Linked DNA regions of Homo sapiens: all the other regions are linked to region 1. The links are contacts of gene promoters, found by promoter capture Hi-C in blood cells and fetal thymus (Javierre and others, 2016). All regions are on one chromosome and are shown on one strand. The core of a region is centred on a gene start or on the middle of the fragment in contact, and the rest is flanking DNA. Distances in the headings are between cores, read along the strand shown. Region 1 holds the start of TMEM168 (transmembrane protein 168). Region 2 has its middle 19 kb from the start of DNAJB9. Region 3 overlaps PNPLA8 (patatin like domain 8, phospholipase A2).

Region 1 (3,942 bases), core at 677-3,176:
AAAGTAAGTTTACTAGAGGACGCTAAGTAGTTCAAAGGATAGCTGGAGATTGAGGCTTGCACCTACATGGCCAGAATCTACCTTGGCTGTTACCGGTGGAAGGTGTCCAGGTTCTTGGCATCTTGAACAAGGAATTAGACAAAACGCACAAACAAAGCAAGGAAGGAATGAAGCAACAAAAGCAGAGATTTATTGAAAATGAAAGTACACTCCACAGGGTGTGAAGAGCCGGAACATGGGGCTCAAGAGCGGGGCGGCCGGGTTATAGAATTTTCTGGGGTATAAACACCCTCTAGAGGTTTCCCATTGGCCACTTGGTGTACACCCCACGCAAATATAGTGGCCCACAATCAGTCTGATAGCGGAAAGCAACCAATCAGAGCCTGAAGCGAAGTTACAAAGGTTACACCCTATGCAAACATTTAATTAGTTATGGAAAGCAACCAATCCGAGGTACTTTCAATTTTCCGTCTGCCACGCAGAAAAGGGCGGTGGTGGGGGAGGGGGCCGGGTCCCTTTGTTACTTAGCTGTGGAAAGTTGGGGCTTTCCTTTTGATTTAGTTCTAGAAAGTCAGCATGAATCAGCCGTAAGTTCCTTGCCTCCAGACCCTATTGTCCTGCCTCACAGCTATGTAGTACAGAGTCTGTCACAGGCTACCCAGAAATGTACACAGAGACTGTTAACAGGCTACAGAACAGATTGGGAAAGGGCTCTGGGGTTGTGACCCTCACCAAGCACAGGCATCTTGCATCTCTGACATGTTAATGGTGGATGCCAGCACTCTCACTACTGCCTCGGAAGCTTACCTTGCTGTTAGGGATGGGTTCTCGATCTCTACACTTGCTATACTCCTACAGGTGACCTGGGAGTGTAGCTTTCTGTGCCTTTTTTGACTCATGGCTTCCAGCGGGTACACATGATTAGTTAAACAAGTGTTCAGCATTTCAGCGGCAGCCATTAGACTCTTAACTCAGGTGGGGAATTCTCCAAATACGGAAGGGGATTCAAATGGGGGGCATAATAAATGTATATAAATGTCCATTAAAGGCAAGTTGAGTTGGAAGTGATGACAATATATTTGAGTAGAAACATCTAGCAGGTAGTTGGAAATGTGGCACTCGTGTTCCCCAGAGAGCTAGTTACAGATTTGGGAAGTTGAGTTGTGATTGCTTTTAAAATCAGGAGTCTAGAGAGAATCTAACTCAAAATTTTCATCCACATATGCAGAATCTCAATCTGAGAGTTGTTCATTCCTATAGATGTGCTGGCCACACCAACCCCCAACATCTATTATGAAAATTAGGAAATTCACACTCTATTATGGAAAATAGGAAAAATATATAGATAATACATGCAAAACAAGTGGGAGGAGAGAACTACGGATCGTGGAGAGCCTATTGCATATTATTATTTTACAAATATTTAAGTGCCAACTATGTGTCAGGCACTATGCTAAGGTGATTTAATGTTGAGCAAAACCCGACATGTCCCTGCATTTGAGGAACTGAAAGGTCTGAGGGAGGGCCTAAGGAGCTTGGGCCTTAGCTGGTTACAAAGCCATATATTATGCCATATATATTAATGAGCAGCAACGCCTCCCGCAGTATTTACAGCCCACGCGTGGCAGTCCTGTCCACCCTGTCCCCGTTCGGTCCAGCCCGAGGCGGTGGCCTAGATGCTTGATGGGCACTGTCAGCCTGATCTTTGGTGGTCTTCCCGCTGTCTGTTCTCAGCTGCTGATTCCAGGTCCCAGGAGTCGACTTTGGCTTGAGGAAGGCAGGCGCCTTAGGTGGGGCAGTTGACACTCGCGCAGCGCCTTGCTCACCTGAGTGTGTGGCGGCGCGCGGGTTTGGGCGGGGAGGGGGCCGGGCCTCGGGAAGGAGGCGCGCCGCGCAGTTTGACCCCGGCGGCGTTCCGTACCGTCGCGGATTTCGGCGGCGGAAACATGGCGGTCGCGGCCGGGCCGGTAACGGAGAAAGTTTACGCCGACACTGGCCTGTATTAGCGCGTATGGCCTCGGGCCCTCGTTCCCCAAGGCGTGCCGCCTCCCTGTTCTCAGTCGCAGGCTGAAGCCTTGTCTGCTCTCCTCCTTTTTGGTTTGGTTTTGGAACTGACTCCGAGGGTTGGGAGAGCGCGTTGGTGGCGACGGCCGAGTCAGGTAGGGAGAAATGGGTGGACGGCAGGGCGGCGAGATCTAGGCATAGACACTGCCAGGGCTCCGCGTGGTCCGGACCCCAAGCTCCGCCCAGTCGGCCTCCCAGGGCCGGGGTAGGATACCTGCCTCTGGAGGAGTTGACAGTGGTGGTTGGAGATTGGAGGGTGTGGGAGCGCCTCTCCGTATTTCGCAAGGGTTCCCCCTCAACTGGGCGCCACGTTGTGGTCGCGTTCTCCGAGGCAGAGGATGGTGGAGAACAGCCAAGCTCCTTGTCGGACCTCCCACATCTCGCTAGAAGGAGGCCGAAAGGGAGAGAAATTGCTGTTGCTGCTCTAGTGCTGAGGAGTTTGATATTCTAGATGACATTTTCCTCGTATGAGATGGCTCAAAGAGTTATCAGTAATTCAGAACTGAAGCACTGAAATTCCCTGTTTTTTCAGTGTAGTTCTTTCAGCCTTGACACTTCTAGATGGGACAGAGTTTCTGAGTGAAAGATAATGCAAGTGATACGGTATGCCTCAAGCCATTCCCTAGAGGTAGGACATGGAGAGAGAATTGGTTTGGAAGAATTTGGGTGAATTAAGTAAAGACTGGTGGAAAGCTGAAATAGAAACCAAACATTCATGGACTCTCCCTTAGTTCTACTAGTTATTAGTTGTGGGATATAGCTAAGTTCTGTATTCTCTTTAGGCATTAGTAAGTGTCCAATGGTGACTATTGTTGTTAAATGTAGTTATTTCTTTATTAGTCTTTATTTTTCAACAAGTATTTATTGAATACCTTCTTGATGCCGGATTTTTGCTAGTCACTGGGTGTACAGTATTGAAGACAAACCCTCAGAGACCTTTTGATCTAGTGGGAAATGCAGACATGAAATAAGTGATGGTATGTAACAGAGAAAGTATGGGGGTCATGTAATGGGGAGGGGGCAGGGATAATCTCTTAAGAAAATGATTTATCTGAGACCTGAAGAGTTGGAATAAGCCAGGTGTGAGCACTGGGGTGGGGCCAGGAGGAGGAAAAGGAGTGTACCTGGCAAGGGAATAGCATTTGTGCAGTTTGTAATTGAAAGGTCAGTAAGGTTGGAAAATAAAGTGTGAGAGGAAAACTGGTAACAGATAAGGCAGGAGAGTTATTCAGGCCCAACACGGAGTGCCTTATAAGGCACTGTAAGGAGTTTTGACTTTATTGCTAAGGGTGATGGGACGCCATTGGAGCATTTTACATAGTGGAGTGCTAAATTTTGGTTTTAAAAAGTACACTTCTTAGAGAGGGCAAGAGTGGATACAGGGAAATGTTCAACATGATGGTGGCCAAAATTGGGATGGTGACCCTGGGGACGAGAAGTAGAAACATTTAAAAAATGTTTAGGAAGAATAGTAGACAGGACTTGGTGAGGATTAAATGTAGATGATGGTGGAGAGGAGGGTTAGAATAGTATGTAAGGTTTTATGAAATAATCAGACTCTGGCAGTGATTGGTTAGCTTTTCCCATATGCATATTGACTCCTCTATGGTCCATTTTCATCTACCTCTGGAATAATTGTCCATTGAATCATTAGTGACGGCAAACCGATTGAAAAGGAATGTAATGTTTTTCTGTTATTCTCTAACTCAGGCTGTCTTTTGAAGAAGATCAGAATGGGGAAGAGTTTTGTAAATTAGCCATTTAAAAACAATCTGCCATGTTGATTTTGGTCCATAGGAAGGTAACTGCATATATTGCATTATATGGATGCACTGTACTTCACTAATTTTTTTTTTACATGTTTACATTTACTTTGTT
Region 2 (3,558 bases), core at 459-2,958, 4.2 Mb after region 1:
TATTCGCAGGTTCTAGGAATTAGGACATGGACATCTTTGGGGGATGATGATTTGTCTGCTACAAGCTCTATGATAGAAACCTCACATGGCAATCCTCTTCTAGTGCTTTCCAATCTCTTTTTTTACATCAGGGAATACAGTAAAAATGAAAAAAAAATTTACAGCACACTGAGGCAACTGGATAACCCTGTTAGGCCATGGCACAATATTTTGGGAGCCCTATACCCTACACTGACCACAGGATTGGTCACAGGCATTACTACTGCTCTTAAGGCTGAGGCACTTAAGGAACAAATCACAGGCATGCATGTGCCATTTCTGTGGAATCCTCCAGGGCAGCTGAGTGGGAGGATAGCCCTGCCATTCATTAATCAGACACCCTGCGTTCTTCCAACCTCAGGGGTTTTTTCTCTCCTCCTGGGCAGCAGTTTCTATCTTGTGATCTAAACATTAGCTTCCCTTGTGCTTCTATCTTTCTCCTTCCTTCTCTGGGGGAACTCAGTGTAACTCCTTGTTGCCCTTGACACTTGATAAAATGTCCATGTGAGTGGCAAGTGCTAGAATTCAATTCAAATTGGCTTAAGTGAAAAGGAGACTTTTTTGTCTCATATAACTGAAGTGTTCAAGGAAAGATGGTTTCAGGCACAGCTGGACCTAGGGCTAAATGGCTCTGAAATCCTCTATGAAGCTCTTTTCAGGTCCCATAAAGTAGCCATTGGTGATATCAGGTTCACATCAGTCTTTTCTGTTAGCAGTCCCAGCTGAAACATACTTTATAGATTGTCAAACATGAATTCATAGAGATTTCTTTTGACCTCCTATATGACCAATTTGAAAATATTCTAGAAGTGGAGGAAAAGACAGAATTGTTTTGTTTGTAACTAACAAATAGGGGAAATTTTCAGTATACCATTTATTATGGCTTGAAAATGAAATTTCAATTGCATGTCACTGTGCCAATACAAGCAGCTCAGAGGAATTGAGACAGGGAGGAGTTGCTCTTTTAAAGGTCCTCAGCTGGGCATGATGGCTCATGCCTGTAATCCCAGCACTCTGGGAGGTGGAGATGCAAGGGTTACTTGAGGCCAGGAATTCAAGACCAGCCTGGGCAACATAGTGAGACTCTGTCTCTACAAAAAAAAAAAAAAAAAGAACATAAAAATTAAAAAATTAGCCAAGTGTGGTGGCATATGCCTTGCAGTCCAGGCTGAGGCTGGAGGATGGCTTGAACCCAGGAGTTCAAGATTGCAGTGAGCTATGATCGTGATCATGCCACTGCCTGGCTGACCCTGTCTCTTAAAAAAAAAAAAAAGATAAATAAAAGTCCTTAAAAAATAAACTCACACAGAAGATGTCTACATAAAAAGAGTTCACACTTGATTTTAACTTTCTAACAAGGTAAAAGTCTTCTTTCTTTTAAGTTCCCCTCTGATCTCATAACTGAGGGGATGTGACCTAGTTTTCTAAGTATCTCAAGATCCACCAGTATTGATATATAAACTGATTTTGTTTCCTTCCAATAATAATTCCTTATAAGATAGTATCTCTGACAGTTTGGACAATGGCATTTGAACAGAAAATTATTTTCTCACACTAAAATATCTGGAAGAAAAATAATGATAGAAAAGTTATAGAAAAAGAGATGTTATCATTTGGGATTAAAAAAACATATTGTGAGGTGGGCACGGTGGCTCACGCCTGTAATCCCAGCACTTTGGGAGGCCAAGGCGGGTGGATCACCTGAGGCCAGGAGTTCGAGACCAGCCTGGCCAACATGGTGAAACCCTGTCTCTACTAAAAACACAAAAATTACCCAGGTGTGGTGGTGCACACCTGTAATCCCAGCTACTCAGGAGGCTGAGGCGGGAGAATCACTTGAACCCAGGAGGTGGAGGTTGCAGTGAGCCAAGATCACATCATTGCATTCCAGCCTGGGCTATAGTGCGAGACTCCATCTCAAAAAAAAAAAAAAAAAAAAATTTAAAAAAAAATTTAAAAAAAATTTGTGGATGACTAAACCTGTATCCCAATATCTTTATTAACAGATATCATTTATTTGGTATAAGGAAGATGTCCCAATGCAGATGAGTCTAGTTTATCATATAAGTAAAGGATTTTGTAACTTTTCAGAAAATCAAATTATGAGATATACACATATGACGTCGAATTTACTTATTCACTAAATAGTTATGGAAAATTTACCCTATACCAGTCACAGATATAGGCACTTGAGACACAGCAGTGGAAGATCCCTACCTCCAAGTAGCTTATATTCTATCAGGAGGAAACAGATAATAACATAATAAGTAATGAAATAAGGTGATAAGTGCTGTGTGAAAATAAAAACAGAGTAAGATAAAGGGATGGAGAGTGTGAGGGAGGAGGGACACAGTGTGGTATTAAATAGGGTGGCCAGAAAGGCCCCATTGAAGAGGTGACAGGTGAGCCAAGACTGGAAGAAGCTGAAGGGATTGGCTGTATAATCAAGAATGCTCCAAACAGAGGAACCAGCTAGTGCAAAGGCCCTAAAGAGAAAGCAAGCCTGGCGTGTTCCTGGAAGAGTGAGGATTCCTGTCTGGCTAGTACAGAATGAAGAAGGGTGTGATGGTTAATATTGAGTGTCAACTTGACTGGATTAAAGGATGCAAAGTATTGTTCCTGGATGTTCTGTGAGGGTGTTGCCAAAGGAGATTAACATTTGAGTCAGTGGACTGGGAGAGGCAGACCCATCCTCAATCTGGGTGGGCACCATCTAATCAGCTGCCAGTGCAGCTAGAATAAAGCAGGCAGGAGAAGACAGAAGAGTAGACTTGCTGAGTCTTCTGGCCTTCATCTTTCTCCTGTGCTGGATGCTTCCTGCCCTGGAACATAAGACTCCAAGTTCTTGAGCTTTAAGAGTCTTGGACTTATACCAGTGGTTTGCCAGGGGTTCTCGAGCCTTTGGCCACAGATTGATCCACCACTGGCTTCCTTGCTCCTCACCTTGCAGACAGACTATCATGGGACTTCACCTTGTGATCATGTGAGTCAATTCTCCTTAATAATCCCCTTATTTATAATATATACCCTATTAGTTCTGTTGCTCTAGAGAACCCTGGCTAATACAAAGGGGAAAAGCAGTCAAAGATAAAATCAGTGAGGTAAAGGGAAGGTAAGCTGATTGTGTAGGACTTCATAGACTATTGTAAATGATTTAGCTCTTACTGGGAATGGGGAGGGAGTAAATGGAAGGCTTTAGGCAGAAAGATAACAAGTTCTTATGTACCTTTAAAAAGAATAACTCTCATTGTTGGCTTGATAACAGACTAATAAGGGGTAGAGAATGAAAACTTTCTTTTACCTAATAATCCCTATGAAAGATGATGCTGGTACTAACATTGGAGTTGAAAGGAAGCTGTCAGATACTGAAAATACATTGAAGGCAAAGCCAGTGGGATTGCCTATGGAGTGTGAGTGCTAAGAGCATGAAAGAAATCAAGAATCACTCTGGGGTTTTAACCTAAACAACTGGAAGGATGGCTTTACAATCAGCTGAGCTGGAGCAGGTCAGAGTTGGAA
Region 3 (4,009 bases), core at 152-2,651, 4.3 Mb after region 1:
AAATGAACATTTCCGGGACAAATCAGAACTTGAAGATAAAAAGGTAGAAGAGGGGAAATTAAGATCTCCAGATCCTGGCATCCTGGCTTATAAGCCAGGCTCAGAATCTGTACATACGGTGGACAAGCCTACAAGTCCTTCTGCGATACCTGATGTTCTTCAAGTTTCAACTAAACAAAGTATTGCTAACTTTCTTTCTCGTCCCACGGAAGGTGTACAAGCTTTAGTAGGTGGTTATATTGGTGGACTTGTCCCCAAATTAAAGTATGATTCAAAGAGTCAGTCAGAAGAACAGGAAGAGCCTGCTAAAACTGATCAGGCTGTCAGCAAAGACAGAAATGCAGAGGAGAAAAAGCGTTTATCTCTTCAGCGAGAAAAGGCAAGTTGTTCAGTGTGCTTTTCGGTTCTATTACTTTTTGTCAAATTTATAAGTTTTATTTCCTAATGAGAACTAAGAAACTTTCATTGTTCTTTAGAGCAGTTTTGTATTCTAATCATATCTATTTAATATGTCTTTGTAGATTATCGCAAGGGTGAGTATTGATAACAGGACCCGGGCATTAGTTCAGGCATTAAGAAGAACAACTGACCCAAAGCTCTGCATTACTAGGGTTGAAGAACTGACTTTTCATCTTCTAGAATTTCCTGAAGGAAAAGGAGTGGCTGTCAAGGTAATTTCTAATTTATTTAATCTAGTTTTGTCTTGGAATAGAAGTACTAAAAAAAATCTAAAATGGAGAAGGCAAAGCCTTTCATTTTTCCATTTGAATTTTGTGGTTTTTATTATACATGTGATGTGTATTCAGTAATTACCCTATTTATTTTGTGACATACATTATGCTAATCAATTCATTTTATTTTGTTAGCACCAATATGTATACTTTGAAATTAAACATTTATAAAATAGAAAATAATCAGTTTATTAGTTGAATTGCCTAACAGCTGCCAGATTTTTCTTTAGTGCAATGTAAATATTTATACTATGTAACTGTTCTTTTAAGATAGGAGACATAATTCATATGTGAGGCTGTTGTTTTTATTTCATGGTCCTTTCGTATTTGAAAGTCTAAAAATTTGAATGACCTTACTCATAATTGAATTAGTAATCATATTAAGTAAAACAATGAGCTTTTCTTTGCCTCAGTTTTTTCAACTATAAAATAATGAAGATAATTTAGACCCACTTAAATGGACTGTTTTCAGAGAAGTGCTATAAAATATGACTAATGTGATTGAGTCTCTTTACATCTATATTATTAAGATTATTTGTAATATTTAATGAAAAATTTGAAAATATCATAATGATAGATACTGCTTACATTTCATTAGAAATCTATTAGTGCTTATTTTTAGCTTGGCATTCAGAAAATTGTTTTAACTTAGAACACATTTATTCTACTTTTTAACAATTACCTTGTTGAAAAATTGTCTTTGAATAATGTACCCATCCTTACTTGTGTATTGTATAACACATACATTATTATAGGTAGCTTCACTATTTTATGGTCCTATAATTTGGGATTATATTTTATATTTATATAATCTTACATAAAAGATAAGATTCTCAAATATACATATGCTTTTAAGTATATTTCACATTTCAGTGATATACTGAAAGCAAAGATCTTAAATAGAATTACATACTGGCTTAGTCCATTTGGGCTGTCATAATAAAATACCTTAGCTTGGGTAATTTATAAACAACAGAAATTTATTTCTCATAGTTCTGGAGGCTGGGCAGTCCAAAATCAAGGCACCAACAATTTGATGTCTGGTGAGAGTCCCGTTCCTCCTAGACAGCAGCTTCTCATGACCTACTTAGATGGCAGAAGGGGCAAGGTGGCTCACTTCAACCTCTTTTACAAGGCCAGTTGTACTACTGATGGATTTCTGAGTAGTTTTCAGTTGCAGTTTAAATAGTCTTGCTAATTGAAACTCTGAGGACTCTTTTATCTTGCATAACTAATCCCAAATCTAAGGACCTTTCAATACTATGAAAAAATGTAATATAGGAATATATATTCAGATCAATTATGAATAAAAATCTAGGTAGTCTGAAAAAAGTTGTCACCCTTCCCTTAAATAATCATCTGAAAAACAGTGAACTGGACAAATTGCATATAACGTGTCAGCATGTACACTCTAGTGTGAACTTTTCCAGCTAAACTTTTTGTTATTATCAAGAGTTGAGCTTTTTAAAAATGATAGAATTTTTATAAAACATCTGTATCAATTTTACTTTTTTATGTGTCTACCATATTTAAGGTAGCTAAATACAGGGAATTATGTCTGATACGTAATGCCCTAAAAAAAAATGAGTTACTTATTTTGTATGCTACATTTATGGCAGCCACATTTAGGGAATTGTCTGTGATAATTTTTTCACTGTGATGAAGGTGGTCTCCTTTCATTATGTTTTTTAATTAAAAAGAAGAACTTTGACTGTTTAGAAAGAAGGCAGCACAAAGCATTGTAGGGAATTAGAAGAAAGAAAAGATAAGAAAATAAAAATAATATATTTTACCCTCAGATTACCACTGTAATGTATTAGAGTTTATTTGTGTTCATTGGATTAAGCTTCCTTAAGCTCTAATAGCAAACAACACCGAAATCTCAGTGACTTAACAAAACAGTTTTATTTCTGGCTCATGCAAAGTTAACTGTGGGTTTGGGTGACTCTTTGGCACAGTGAACCTCCGTGTGGTGGTTACTTAGATCCTGTCCTGTTGTCTGTATTTTAATTGAGTCTTCCTCTCTGATTTCTGTGGCAAGGAAATAATATTTCAGCAGAAGTTGCCACGGGTTTCTTCTACTCACAATCTGTTTATCCTGTCCGATTGCATGGGCCTGAAAAGTACAACCTTCTGTATGCTTGGAAGGGGAAGCAAACAGTGTATTGGTGAACATTAGTAATGTCTGCACAGTATTCCTTCAGAAATCATTCTATGCACATATATACCAAAATAAACTCATTCTGTATATGTTGTTTTATAATCTGGTTTTTTAGCATATAATGTATACCTTTCTATATCAGTAAATGTCCCTTTATCCTGTACCCAGTTTGAAAATGTTATTTATGTAACTGATTAGATCCAAATGAGGGTTCAGTCTAGATCACACATTGCATCTGACTATTTCTCCAAGTCACTTAAAATATAACGCAGTCCTTCAGCCACACCTTCTTCACCTGCACCTTTAAAACTGATTTAATTGAAGACATTAGGCTGGTTAACAGGCAGAAAGACTCGCTTTCTGGATGTACCTGCCTTCTTCCTTCTCAGTGTTATTTGAAGTGTTCCTCTTTCCTTTTCATTTCCTGAACACTGGAATTTAAATATAATGGCTTGATTGAGTTAAACATTTTGTTGTTAGAGCACATTGTAGGTAATGTCATGTGCCTCATAATGCATCATATCAAGACACACATGACAATTAGTTGAACAACCATTAGTAATGCTAAGGATGACCACCGTGTTAAAGTGATGACAATCTGCTTCTCATTGGACAATTGTGCTAGAAGCATTATCTCATCAACCATTAACCTAATCATTTCCAGAACTAATAATTTCATTAGAGTTGCAGAATGACCAATGTCTAATTCTGTTACTCCTACATTATAATTGACATTCTTCTGTAAAGAAGAGCCTTCCTTCATCAACTGAAGCTATTTGGGTATTCTCAAAGGCAAATTTTACAAATTTTACAGGAAAGGAAAGAGAAATGCTTAATTTATTTGTATTTAGTTACCAGTTTTCTTTTTTTTTTTTTTTTTTTCCAATTTGAGAGCAGGTACTGTTTATTAACCAACCAGCTTAGAGAAATAGTCATGGTAGACACCTTAGTTCATTCTTCTAATAAGCCTGTTGATCTGGTCCTCCCTGTTGCCAGCATCTCCACCTTCTACAAAATGGGTGGTCTTTTTCTTCATTCCACCTCGTGGAGAAGACAATTTGAAGGGCCACAGGAAGTTATTTGCCTCTTTGAAGCGTTTTCCAACAGTATAGATCTC

The links. Contacts are between HindIII fragments. The CHiCAGO score rates a contact against its expected background, and 5 or more counts as called.
Region 2: a contact is called between a fragment that was not itself captured here and the fragment with the promoter of TMEM168 in region 1, in 2 of 17 cell types (activated CD4 T cells and total CD4 T cells). The highest score is 5.7, in activated CD4 T cells.
Region 3: a contact is called between a fragment that was not itself captured here and the fragment with the promoter of TMEM168 in region 1, in 1 of 17 cell types (total B cells). The highest score is 7.6, in total B cells.

The regions. Positions count from the first base shown.
Region 1 is chr7:112,788,377-112,792,318 of GRCh38, reverse strand. It overlaps TMEM168 (transmembrane protein 168), which reads left to right and starts at 1,926. Exons shown (of 5, transcript NM_022484.6): 1 at 1,926-2,159. RefSeq lists an enhancer at 1,538-1,667. The HindIII fragment of the contact is 5,754 bases long and covers 805-3,942 here.
Region 2 is chr7:108,586,865-108,590,422 of GRCh38, reverse strand. No RefSeq gene overlaps it. Among named protein-coding and RNA genes, the nearest start is that of DNAJB9, 19 kb to the right of the region's middle. The HindIII fragment of the contact is 6,518 bases long and covers 1-3,558 here.
Region 3 is chr7:108,510,806-108,514,814 of GRCh38, reverse strand. PNPLA8 (patatin like domain 8, phospholipase A2) reads left to right here. Exons shown (of 11, transcript NM_001256007.3): 3 at 1-379; 4 at 522-671. It also overlaps the pseudogene RPL7P32. Among named protein-coding and RNA genes, the nearest start is that of PNPLA8, 13 kb to the left of the region's middle. The HindIII fragment of the contact is 2,356 bases long and covers 224-2,579 here.